Linked DNA regions of Homo sapiens: region 2 is linked to region 1. Evidence: promoter capture Hi-C in human tissues and cell types (Jung and others, 2019). All regions are on one chromosome and are shown on one strand. The core of a region is centred on a gene start or on the middle of the fragment in contact, and the rest is flanking DNA. Distances in the headings are between cores, read along the strand shown.

Region 1 (6,410 bases), core at 2,595-5,094:
TCCCTTCCTTTCTTTCTTCTTTTTCTATTTGGAGACAAGGTCTCACTCTGTAGCCCATGCTGGAATGCAGTGGCATGATCATGGCTCACTGCAGCCTTAAAATTCTGGGCTCAAGGGATCCTCCTGTCTCAGCCTGCTGTGGAGCTGGGACTACAGGCATGTGCCACCAAGCCTGGCTAATTTATTTTTATTTTTTGTAGAGACAGGGTCTTGCCATGTTGCCCAGGCTGGTCTTGAACTCCTGACTTCAAGTGATCCTCCTGCCTTGGTCTTCCAAAGTGTTGGGTTTACAGGTGTGAGGCACTGTGCCTGGCTTCTTTATTATCATTATTATTATTTTAGACAGAGTCTCGCTATATCACCCAGGTTAGTCTCCAATTCCTGGGCTCAAGTTCCTGCTTCAGGCTCCCGAGTAACTGGGATTACAGGCATGAGCTGCATACCCAGCAATAGTATCACATTTTTTAAAAGACACTGAGGCCAGGCACAGTGGCTCACACCTGTAATCCCAGCATTTTGGGAGGCCAAGGCAGGTGGATCCCTTGAGGTCAGGAGTTCAAGACAAGCCTGGCCAACCTGGTGAAACCCTGTCTCTACTAAAATACAAAAATTAGCTGGATGTGGCGGCGTACACATGTAATCCCAGCTGCTCAGGAGGCTGAGGCAGTAGAATCACCTGAACCTGGGAAGCGGAGGTTGCAGTGAGCCAAGATGGCGCCACTGCACTCCAGCCTGGGCAACAGAGCAAGACTCCATCTCAAGAAAAAAAAAAGTCACTGAATAATAGGAGTATCAAATCCCATTTATGCTTTCCTTTAAAAAAATCCAGAATATGTGGGAAATGAGATATGAGTGGGGATACAAAGTTTTCTGGGTTAAATATTTTGCAACAAGTATATACTTACATATTACTTGCAATTTAAAAACTGTATTTTTTAATAGCAAAAGCAGAAAGGGGCTTAGAAAGGGAATGTGAGGGCCCTCAGGAGTGGAAAACAGGGGACTTCCCATGACGAAACTAGCTTCTGTTCCTAATACGGCCCTTCCTCTACCCATTGCTACAGATCATCAGATCGTGGGACTATCTCCTATGGCTACATGGAAAAGAAAGGTGAGGTCTCCTGTCCCTATTCATCTCCAAAGACCCCCAAAGTAAACCCTCAGTTACCCGGATGCTCTCAGAGGTCGATAAAAACATTCAAACATCCAACTGGCATGGAAAAGTGGAAGAGGAAAATCAAAACGAGAGAAAATTCCCAGATTCTCCAATTAGACAGTTTGGACACCTGAGCTCAGGAATGACTACAATAAGTTCTCCTTTGGAGGTCTCAACATCATGATGCAAACTTAACCCCAACCCTAGGCTAAAAATAAAACTTCCCAAGGGCCAGGTGCAGTGGTTCATGCCTGGAATCCCAACACTTTAAGAGACTGATGCAGGAAGATTGCTTGAAGCCAGGAGTTCGAGACCAGCCTCGGCAAAAAAGCAAGACCCCCATATCTACAAAAAATATGCCTGCTGTCCTAGCTACTTGGGAGACTGAACCAGGAGGATCTCTTGAGCCTAGAAGCTCAAGACTGCAGCATGCCATGATTCTTCCACCGCACTCCAATGTGGGCAACAGAGTGAGCCCCTGTTCCTAAAAAGTAAAGTAAGATAAAAATAAAATAGGAACTTCCTACCAAGTTACCTATATTTTCTTTTTTGATCTTAAGGCCATTTTACATATGAAAATCTTGAGCTCCAGAGATGTGAAATAACCTGCTCAAGTTACTTGCAGTAAGACAGAGGCAGAACCTACCTTCAGAATCCTCATCAGTTTTTTTCTTTCATCCGTTATGATTATCCATTATCATTATGCCATATTGTCCTTTTTTTTTTTTTTTGAGATAGGGCACAATCACAGCTCTCTGCAGCCTCAACCTCTGGGGCTCAAGTGATCCTCCTGCCTCAGCCTCCCGAGTAGCTGGGACTACAGGTGCACACCACTATGCCAGGCTAATTTTTTAAAAATTTTTTTATAGTTTTTTTTTTGTAGAGACAGGGTTTCACTATGTTGCCCAGGCTCTATTTTAAATCTAACATTTGCTTTTGTCCCCTTTAATCTTGACCCCAACCCCAGTCCTAACCCATAGTGGGCTCATGTGCTTCTGGCCCCAACCCAGTGAAAATGGCTTGTTTTGCTTTCTGCACCTCCTTGCTCCTTCCTCCCATCTTATCACTCAGAAATCTCCCATGCTTCCTTCTTGAAAGGAGCAATCCTAGGCAGGCAGGAAGGACTAGATTTGGTCCCAGCCTGAAATGTCTCAGAGACTGCATGGCTCTTTTCTGCATCATTGTAGAAATGATCCTTACCAGGAGGACTTTGGAGTTCACGTCAAGCAGGCCATTGACTCTCTCCCACTGGATTCTTTGCAAAAGCAGCCTCTTGACCATAGAGGAGGACAACAGGTTATCCGTGCCCATGATCCAAGAGCTTGAGATCCTGAGATGAAGACTTCAGGAGAGATCAGGACAGATAATTTGTGGTGGGCAGGAATCAGTAAACTGGGACAACAGCAGCAGCTGAGTCCAAGGGTCAGTGTCTGGGAGTAATTTAGGAAAGTTTGGTGCTGACAGCTGTGTCTGGGACTTGAACGTCATGGCCAAACCAGCTCCTGGGCTCCTCAGCTGCTTCAGACTAATGAACCTCTGGCCCAGGACACAAGAAGCAGCTGTGGTGTGGCTGAAGTCAGGACCCCCGGAGGCCCAGACTCAGCCTTGCTGCTTCCTTAACAGTGTGACCTTAGATAAGTCACTTAGGAAAAGAGGAAAGGAAACTAGCATTTAGCGAGTGCAGTGCCCTTTCACAGCTGCCATCATACAGTGAGGAGGGGAATGTCCCTATTTCACATGAGAAGTCCTGAAGGTAAACGTGTCATTCAAGGCTCTATAGCTGGGGAGTAAGAAGACAGAATTAGAACCCAGAGCTTCTGAATTCAAATCCCGGGCTGTTGGCCCTGAGCTTTAGCTTCTCGGTCTGTAAAATGGTGTTACACTCACCTGGCACATGAAGTCGCACACTGAAGGTTCTAAAACCCCTCCATTCTTTCTCCCAACCGTGGTCCTGAAGAGCTGTGGCACCTTCTTCCTGGGAACGTAGTCATCGTATTTTGCCCTCCCCACAACAGGTTTGTGGGGTCTAGGCCCCAGGAGGTGTCTGAAGGGAAGGTATTTGGACTTTGCTTTCCCCTCTACCCCACTCCCCAGACCTTCTCCCGACTCCAGAGGGCTGGCTCCCGCTTCTCCTCCCTGGTTTTGGCTGGCGGACTGACATCAGCTGGTATTCCTAGGGATAGGATAAGGAACCCTGAGCTGCATGGCTCAGCTCCAGGCGCCCCTTCCCCCACAACCCAGGACAGCCCCTTAGAAGCAGCGGCGTCGAGAGGCCGCTGGAGCTCCCAGCCCCCTCCCTCTTCTCCACGTCTGGGAGAGCAGCTTGCCGACCCCTCCAGACCCGAAAGAGAGAGGGGGCGACTCGAATTCGGGGAGCGATCCTGGGAGACCCTGGAGAGTCCTGGGCGCCACGCAGCCGAGCCCCCGAAATAGATCCCGGTTCCGGGGTTCCGGGAGCTGTCCAGCCTCGCGGGGTGAGCTACGAGAGGGTGGGCCAACGCCGGCGAGGCGGAGGGAGCCGCGGGCGCCAGGCGCGGGTGAGGCAGCGACTCCCCCTCCAGCCGCGGGCCCCGAGCGTCGCCCCCGCCCCCCACGTGGCCGCCGCCGTCCCAGCCCCTCCGAGGAAGCGGCGCGGCTTCCTGCAGCTTGGGCTGGGGATATAGGCGCCCCCACACCCGGGCCCGGCTCAGCGCCGCCGCCGCTCCTCGCCTCCTTGCTGCACGATGGCCTCGCTCCGGGTGGAGCGCGCCGGCGGCCCGCGTCTCCCTAGGACCCGAGTCGGGCGGCCGGCAGCGCTCCGCCTCCTCCTCCTGCTGGGCGGTGAGCGCGGCGCCCCGAGGCCCGGGCGGGAGGCGCGAGAGGCCCCGGAGGGGAGAGGGGAGAGGGGAGAGGGGCTGGATGGCCGAGGCCGGAACGGGCCCTGGGGTGCGGGTTAGGACCGACGTACCTAGCAGCACTGGCCCTCGGACGGTCCCTGACCCCACCTCGGGGCGGGCGCAGCATGAGCTGCTTCCCACCCAGGGAAAGCTGGGGTGCTGGCCCCGGCCCCTCGAAGAGGGCTTAGGAGGACGGAAGCTGGCCAGAGATGAGGGGGCTTTGGGCCTGGGTGTGAGTGACAAGGAGCTGGTGCCAGCCCCTCCCTCCCCGGCACTGAGGCGTCCGTGGGGGCTAGATTATTCCTCCTTTTCTTCCAAGGTAGCCTATTTTCGGAGGGTCTCAGTCCCCCAACCCCCCTCGCAGGCTCCACTGCCGGGGTCCCCGCTATGTTACCCTCCTCTCCCGTTTCTTCCCACAGCTGTCCTGAATCCCCACGAGGCCCTGGCTCAGCCTCTTCCCACCACAGGCACACCAGGGTCAGAAGGTGGGTACCCAGGGTGTGGAAGGGTGGCCGAGGGTAAGGACGAGAGCAAGTTCAGTGGGGAGGGTTCCTTTCCCACGAGGCCTGCCCAACCCCAGCTGATGCCCCACTACACTCCCCTCTGTTCTTTCTTGGGGTTCCTCGTGGTCTTTCTCCCTGTCCTCCTACAAAGCCCCTGCACGGCTCTGAGCTGCCCACCTCACAAGTGGGCGAGAAGACCCCAGGAAAAGGTGTACGTGGAAGTTCTTATCAGGCTGGGATGGAAAGTGCTTAGCACATGGAAGTCATTATAGGATTCCTGAGCTGGGACTCTGTCCTCAGCCAGAATGTTTTGCTAGGGAAACTTTCTGAAGGGTTCCCACGTTTGAAGACAGGCAGTTCACCTTGCAAGCACCTGGGCAGGAGGGTTTGTAGGGAGGGGTAGGGGTGTGGTCATTGTGTAGCATCTGTACCTACAGGGGGGACGGTGAAGAACTATGAGACAGCTGTCCAATTTTGCTGGAATCATTATAAGGATCAAATGGATCCTATCGAAAAGGATTGGTGCGACTGGGCCATGATTAGCAGGTAGGGGCAGTGATGGAGGGTGGCTCAGGCCAGGGGGTGGACCTGCTCATTGCAGGTAGACCCTGAGTGAGAGTGGGGCACTCTTCTCCCTGGGTCCACCCCCTCTCTCACTCAAGTCCTCTTCTGCCCCTAGGCCTTATAGCACCCTGCGAGATTGCCTGGAGCACTTTGCAGAGTTGTTTGACCTGGGCTTCCCCAATCCCTTGGCAGAGAGGATCATCTTTGAGACTCACCAGATCCACTTTGCCAACTGCTCCCTGGTGCAGCCCACCTTCTCTGACCCCCCAGAGGATGTACTCCTGGCCATGATCATAGCCCCCATCTGCCTCATCCCCTTCCTCATCACTCTTGTAGTATGGAGGAGTAAAGACAGTGAGGCCCAGGCCTAGGGGGCCACGAGCTTCTCAACAACCATGTTACTCCACTTCCCCACCCCCACCAGGCCTCCCTCCTCCCCTCCTACTCCCTTTTCTCACTCTCATCCCCACCACAGATCCCTGGATTGCTGGGAATGGAAGCCAGGTGGGGTCATGGCACAAGTTCTGTAATCTTCAAAATAAAACTTTTTTTTTGTACAATGTCCTTCTCCCCATTTCAGTGGAACCTGTGTCCTTCCCTGCCACTGCCACAGGCCCTCAGCCCTGGGTAGTAGAACTGGAAAAATCTGGATGGCCCATTGTTCTGTTCATTTCACCTGCCCCCCTGCTCCCTGCCTCCATGAAGGTCACACCCCTATATTCTTTCCTCCCAGGCGGGCCTTTCCTGCCTATATCCAAACTCGGCTCCAGGAAACAAGCAGGAAGAGACTCCCTTCCGGTCTGGACAGCAGCTGGGGGCCTGCAACTGGGGAGGTGTGGGGGAAGGGGCAAGGGAGGAATCTCTGCTTGTGACTCCTGCAAGAGGAGCAGGAGGCTGCCCAGGAGCCCTGACTATTCCTCTTCTTCATGCTTCAGTTTACTCACAGGGCCTGGGAAGAGGAACCCTGACTGAGCAACAGGAATCCATTCCTAAGGCCCTCACAATTGAGGGAGAAAGCAGTGGGGGCTTCCTTTACTAGGTTCACCACCCCTCTCCATGTCCCTTGCCCTCATCCTACATTGTCCTGGACTGGGTGTGGCCTGCAGCCTAGCAACACACTGCCCCCTGGTGTCCACTAAAGCCAGCAACCAGAAGACGTATCTGATCTGGAAGAAGCTCAAGGCTGAGGAGCACTGGACCCTGGGGTCAGAAAACTGCCATCTCTACAGCAATCACTAGTTCCTTGTTTGTTTGTTTGTTTGTTTGTTTGTTGAAACAAGGTCTCATTCTGTCACCCAGGCTGGAGTTCAG
Region 2 (6,410 bases), core at 1,572-4,071, 270 kb before region 1:
CGAGTATCTTACAGTTTATTAGGAGAGTTCCAACTATGGAGTTGGAAAAAGCTTTAAGCAGGTGGCATTTGATCAGGTCTTTGAAGAATGATAAGTTGTTGGTAAGACTGCTGAATGAAGAGAAGAAAACAAAGGCAGGAAGTATGGTTAGACCATGTATGTTTGGACAAGAACAGGATTTACAGTGGGTTAGCTGAAGAGAAGTACCTGTCTGCATCAGGTAGTTTGGAACTTAATTGTGAAAGGTTCTTAAATAATAGCTTAGAAGATTTAAATTTTATTCCAGAGGAAGTTGAGAGACATTGGAAGTTCTTTAGGGGTAAAGGAACATGATCAAAGCAGTTTGGGTGGTTTTTTACATTTTTAATTTTGTGTTTGAGACAAGATCTTGCTCTGTTACCCAGGCTGGAGTGCAGTGGTGCCATCTCAGCTCACTTCAGCTTCCAACTCCTGGGCTTAAGCAATCCTCCCACTTCAGACTCCCGGTAGCTGGGACTACAGGTGCCCACCATCATGCGTGGCTAATTTTTTGTAGAGACAGGGTTTTGCCATGTTGCCCAGGCTGATCTCAAATTCCTGGGCTCGAGTGATCTGCCTTCCTTGGCCTTCCAAAGTGTTGGGGCCAGGCGTGGTGACTCACTCTTGTAATCCAGCACTTTGGGAGGTTGAGGCGGGTCATCACTTGAGGTCAGGAGTTTGAGACCAGCCTGGCCAACATGACAAAACCCCGTCTCTACTAAAAATACAAAAAAGTTAGCCAGGTATGGTGGTGGGTGCCTGTGATCCCAGCTACTCAGGAGGCTGAGGCAGGAGAACCACTTGAACCCAGGAGGCAGAGGTTGCAGTGAGCTGAGATCATGCCACTGCACTCCAGCCTGGACAGCAGAGTGAGACTCTGTCTCAAAAAAAAAAAAAAAGTGGGTCACCACGCCTGGTGGATCAAAGCAGTTTTTTTGTTTTTTGGTTTTTTTTTTTTTGAGATGGAGTTTTGCTCTTGTTGCCCAGGCTGGAGTGCAGTGGCATGATCTCGGCTCACTGCAACCTCCACCCTCCACCTCCCTGCTTCAAGTGATTCTCCTGCCTCAGCCTCCTGAGTAGCTGGGATTACAGGTGTGCGCCACCACACCCAGCTAATTTTTTGTATTTTTAGTGGAGACGGGGTTTCATCACGTTGACCAAGCTGGTGTCGAACTCCTGACCTCAGGTGATCCACCCGCCTCAGCCTCCCAAAGTGCAGGGATTACAGGCATGAGCCACTTCTCCTGGCTCAAAGCAGTTTTAAAAGAGTAATCTGCTGATAGTATCTAGGTTGGATTGAGGAGTGAAGAGATTCTGTAGGTAGGGGTTCAGTTAGGAGGTTATTGTAGACATAGAGTAGTAAATGATAAGGATCCCCAGGTAGGACTTGACAATGGGAAAAAAAATGATGAATTGTGAGATGTTCTGCAGGAAAAATCAATAGGGCTACCTGGTTCCTAGCAAGGTGCAGGAGAAATACAAGGAGAAAGATTTAAACATCTTTTTGAGGCATCAAAGCTGACTGGCCAGGAGAATTAGGGTTCCAATGAGGGAAGTAAATGTTCAGCCAGAGAAGCTTATTGATTGGGGAGAGATGGTAAGTTCAGTTCCGGGCACATTGAGGTCTATGTGGAAATGTCAAGCAGACAAGGGAACAAAGCTAAGGAAATGGGAGTCATGAGAATGGAAGGGAATGAGACCTCCAAGAGGGAGGTCATAGAGAGAAAAAAAAGGTTGGGGTCTTGCAATGCTATGAGATAGGCAGAGCAGAAATAACCAGCAAAGATAGAAAAGCAATGGTCAGCGAGCAGGAGGAGAACTCCTAAGGAAGAAGGATTTTCACCAAAGATCTCCAATGTCAGGGGCGTGCATGGGGGAGAGAAGCTCTTTGGTCAGGAGCCAGTCACTTTGCCTAAGCATGCTCAGCCAGACTGCAAGGGATCAGGAAGTTAAGAGAAGGTAGTGAAGAAGGAGAGCCAGAGAACATACTTTGCTTTCTCCATGAAAGGGGGAGAACAACTTTCATAAAAAGGCAGATATGGAGGCAGTTCCACATTTTCTTTGGTGACATATTTTAAAGTTAAATTTTTTTCACATTAAGGATGTATTTCAGAGGATCTAATAGAAATCTTCCATTATAAATGTTATACCTTTTCCCAGTTTTCCCAAAAGCTGGGAAAGATAATCTAGTTTTATTTTTAGGTTTATTAGTTTTATTGAGATATAATTTACATGAAAGAAAATACATACATTTTATGTGTACCATTTGATGAGTTTCAAGAAATGTACACCTGTGTAACCACTACCACAATTAGGAGGATAACCTAAGTTTGATAAATGTGCTAATGTTTTTCAGGAACACAGTGGTTCCACTGTACCTTCCATTTTGAACAGGATGCAGACAAACCAGACTCCCCCAACCTATAACAAAACCAACAAGTTTACCTATGGCTTTCAGAACATAGTAGATGCTTATGGAATTGGAACTTACCGAGAGATAAATCCAGGTAAAAAAAAGCTTGTTATCTTTTTCCTCTAGAGTTTTTTTTGTTTGTTTGGTTGGTTTGGTTTGTTTTGAGACAGAGTCTCCCTCTGTCACCCAGGCTGGAGTGCAGCAGCACGACTGTAGTTCACTGCAGCCTCAAACTCCTGGCCTCAAGAGATCCTCCCAACTCAGTCTCCTGTATAGCTAGGACCACAGGCGCACAGCACCACACCTGGCTAATTTTTTATTTTATGATTTTTTTTTGACTGGGTCTCATTCTGTTGCCTAGGCTGTAGTGCAATGGTGAAATCACGGCTTACAGCAGCCTCAACCTCGTGGGCTCAAGTGATTCTCCCGCCTGAACCTCTGGAGTAGCTGGGACTACAGGCATGTGTCACCATGCCTGGCTAATTTTTAAAATTTTTTTAGAGATGGGTTTTGCTATGTTGCCCAGGCTGATAATTTTTAATTTTTTTTAGAGACGGGGTCTTGTTATGTTGCCCAAGCTAGTCTTGGACTCCTGGGCTCAAGGAAGCCTCCTGCTTCAGCCTCCCAAAGTGCTGGGATTACAGGTGTGACCCACTATGCCTGGCCTTTTTGTTCATTGTTTCTTCTAATGCCTCACTTTAAATGCTGTTGAATAACTGAATTAAAATTAAAGATGTTAATCCTAGCACTGTTTTTTTAATTTAATTTTATTTTTAATTTTTTTTGAGACGGAGTCTCGCTGTGTCACCCATGCTGGAGTGCAGTGGCGTGATCTTGGCTCACCGCAAGCTCTGCCTCCCAGGTTCACGCCATTCTTCTGCCTCAGCCTCCCGAATAGCTGGGACTACAGGCACCCGCCACCATGCCCGGCTAATTTTTTTTTTATTTTTTTTAGGTGAGACAGAGATTTACTCTCGTTGCCCAGGCTGGAGTGCAATGGCACGATCTCAGCTCACCACATCCTCTGCCTCCCAGGTTCAAGCGATTCTCCTGCCTCAGCCTCCCGAGTAGCTGGGATTATAGGCATGTGCCATCACGCCCGGCTAATTTTGTATTTTTAGTCGAGACGGGGTTTCACCATGTTGCCCAGGCTGATCTCTAACTCCTGACTTCAGGTGATCTGCCTGCCTCTGCCTCCCCAAGTGCTGGGATTACAGACGTGAGCCACTGCGCCCGGCCATTTTTTTGTATTTTTAGTAGAGACAGGGTTTCACTGTGTTAGCCAGGATGGTCTCGATCTCCTGACCTCATGATCCACCCGCCTTGGCCTCCCAAAGTGCTGGGATTACAAAGTGCTGGGTGGCGTGAGCCACTGCGCCCAGCCAATCCTAGCACTTTTAGAGGCCGAGGTAGGAGGATTGCTTAAGCCCAGGATTTCAAGATCAGCCTGGGCAACATAGTGAGACCCCATCTCTATTAAAAAATAAATAAACATGTTGACACCTCAGATCTTGTGTACTCCCTGTGAAGAGGTGCTCATTCTGGCAGGGCATGGTGGCTCACGCCTGTAATCCCAGCACTTTGGGAGGCTGAGGCATGTGGATCACATGAGGTCAGGAGTTTGAGACCAGCCTGGCCAACATGGTGAAACCCTGCCTCTACTAAAAATACAAAAATTAGCCGGATTTGGTGGCATGCACCTGTAGTCCCAGCTACTCGGGAGGCTGAGGCCTGAGAATCACTTGAACCCAGGAGGCAAAGGTTGCAGTGAACCGACATCATGCCACTGCACTCCAGCTTGGGCAACAACAAAAAGATGCCCATTTAATGTAAGGGGCAGGTTTACTGTCAGGTAGCGTTCCTTTAAGAGTTCATCGGCTGGGCCAGGTGTGGTGGCTCACGCCTGTAATCCCAGCACTTTGGGAGGCCGAGGCAGGTGGATCACCTGAGGTCAGGAGTTCGAGACCAGCCTGACCAACATGGAGAAACCCCGTCTCTACTAAAAATACAAAATCAGCCAGGCATGGTGGCTCTTGCCTGTAATCTCAGCGACTCGGGAGGCTGAGGCAGGAGAATCACTTGAACCGGGGAGACGGAGGTTGCCGTGAGCCGATATTGCATTATTGCACTCCAGCCTGGGCAAAAAGAGTGAAACTCTGTCTCAAAAAAAAAAAAAAAAAAAAGTTCATCGGCTGGGCGTGGTGGTTCATGCCTGTAATCCCAGCACTTTGTGGGGACAAGGTGGAAGGATCACTTAAGGTCAGGAGTTCGAGACCAGCCTGGCCAACATGGTGAAACCCTATCTCTACTAAAAATACAAGAAAATTAGCCAGGCCTGGTGGTGCATGCCTGTAATCCCAGCTACTCAGGAGGCCTAGACAGGAGAATTGCTTGAACCCAAGAGACAGAAGTTATAGTGAGCCTAAATTGTGCCACTGCACTCCAGCCTGAGTGACAGAGCAAGACTCTGTCTCAAAAAAAAAGTTCATGAGACTGGATTCTTTCATGTGCCCTCACAGCCCTAAAACACCTGGACTTCTCTAGCAAATCATTTGCAGGAACTGTTTTAAGCAAAATGTTTCTTCTAAGATGTCTGATATTTTTAAATGGCTTTTTTTTTGGCTTCCCTGTTCCAAGGTTAGACAGAAAAAATGTAGCAAGTATTGGCCACTTTAGGTACAACACAGATTTCTCCTATATTTGGAGAGTTAATTATTAAATCAAGAGTGTGAGTATTCATTTTCAGTTGGAGCCCTATGGAAGAACTGCTTTGCTCTGGGCTCTCTCCATCTGTACGTTATCTGATATTTAGCTTTATATCACTGGGACATGGTTGCTGCACAAAGAGAAGACAGCTGGCCTGCCCTGGGAGCAGGGTCCCACGAGTTACAAGAGAGTCAGAGAACAAACCAATGTTGTCAAGGTTACACCTTCATTTCCACTGTTCTTTGTTTGAAATGTTATCAGAGCTGCCAGGCACAGTGCCTCATGCCTGTAATCTCGGATATTCAGGAGGCTGAGGTGGGAGGATTGCTCAAGGCCACAAGTTCAGGACTAGCTTGGGCAAAATAGTGAGATTCCATCTAAAAAAATATTATTTATCAGTAATTTTAAAACAAAATTAACTGGGCATGGTGGCACATACTTGTAGTTCCAACTGTTTGGGAGGCTGAGGTGGGAGGATAACTTGAGTCCAGGGGTTGCAGGCTGCAGTGAGCTGTGATGAAACCACTGCACTCCAGCCTGGGTGGCAGAGAAAGACCCCATCTCTCTTTTAAAAAAAGTTATCAGTAGCTCAAATTTCATTAGCTACTTTGTGAAGATGTGTTGATTCTGCCATGAAAGATTTTCTCTGAGAGTCCTATCTGTCTGGCAGCTGGGGAGTAAGTCACCTTATATTGATCTTAAGATTATGGAAGCCTGGGCACGGTGGCTCACGCCTGTAATGCCAGCACTTTGGGAGGCCGAGGCAGGTGGATCACTTGAGGTCAGAGTCGGAGACCAGCCTGGGCAACATGGTGAAACCCTGTCTCTACTAAAAATACAAAACTTAGCTAGGCATGGTGGTGGGCACCTGTAATCCCAGCTACTCAAGAGGCTGAGGCAGGAGAATCACTTGAACCTGGGAGATGGAGGTTGCAGTGAGCCAAGATTGAGACATTGCTGGCTGACAGAGCAAGACTCCATCTCAAAAAAAAAAAGGGGGGTGGGTATGGAAAAGAATGTAATATTTGTGGAATTGCTATGGTTTAATGTACTTTGTATTTTTCTTTTTTTGGTTTCTTCATAGCTCCGTATACTATTATCACGTTCCCTTTTCTATTTGCTGTGATGTTTGGAGACTTCGGTCATGGCATTTTAATGACCCTTTTTGCTGTGTGGATGGTACTGAGGGAGAGCCGGATCCTTTCCCAGAAGAATGAGAATGAGGTAATGTTTAAGTTACATCTGCATTGAACTGAAATTTTATAATTTCCCA

Evidence for each region. The method cuts DNA at HindIII sites, captures the fragments that hold promoters and counts their contacts. A contact is called where the count stands out against the background at its distance.
Region 2: a contact is called between a fragment that was not itself captured here and the fragment with the promoter of RAMP2 in region 1, in 2 of the 25 tissues and cell types used here (heart left ventricle and hippocampus).

What each region holds. Positions count from the first base shown.
Region 1 is chr17:42,757,383-42,763,792 of GRCh38, forward strand. RAMP2 (receptor activity modifying protein 2) reads left to right here and starts at 3,845. Exons shown (of 4, transcript NM_005854.3): 1 at 3,845-3,976; 2 at 4,452-4,517; 3 at 4,973-5,081; 4 at 5,215-5,659. The coding sequence starts at 3,880. The coding sequence ends at 5,470. RAMP2-AS1 (RAMP2 antisense RNA 1) reads right to left here and starts at 3,875. Exons shown (of 6, transcript NR_024462.1): 1 at 3,498-3,875; 2 at 3,253-3,329; 3 at 3,044-3,131; 4 at 2,357-2,498. RefSeq lists a silencer at 3,959-4,048. The HindIII fragment of the contact is 24,962 bases long and covers 1-6,410 here.
Region 2 is chr17:42,488,113-42,494,522 of GRCh38, forward strand. ATP6V0A1 (ATPase H+ transporting V0 subunit a1) reads left to right here. Exons shown (of 22, transcript NM_001130021.3): 11 at 2,375-2,525; 12 at 6,222-6,361. Among named protein-coding and RNA genes, the nearest start is that of MIR548AT, 3.5 kb to the right of the region's middle. The HindIII fragment of the contact is 3,999 bases long and covers 823-4,821 here.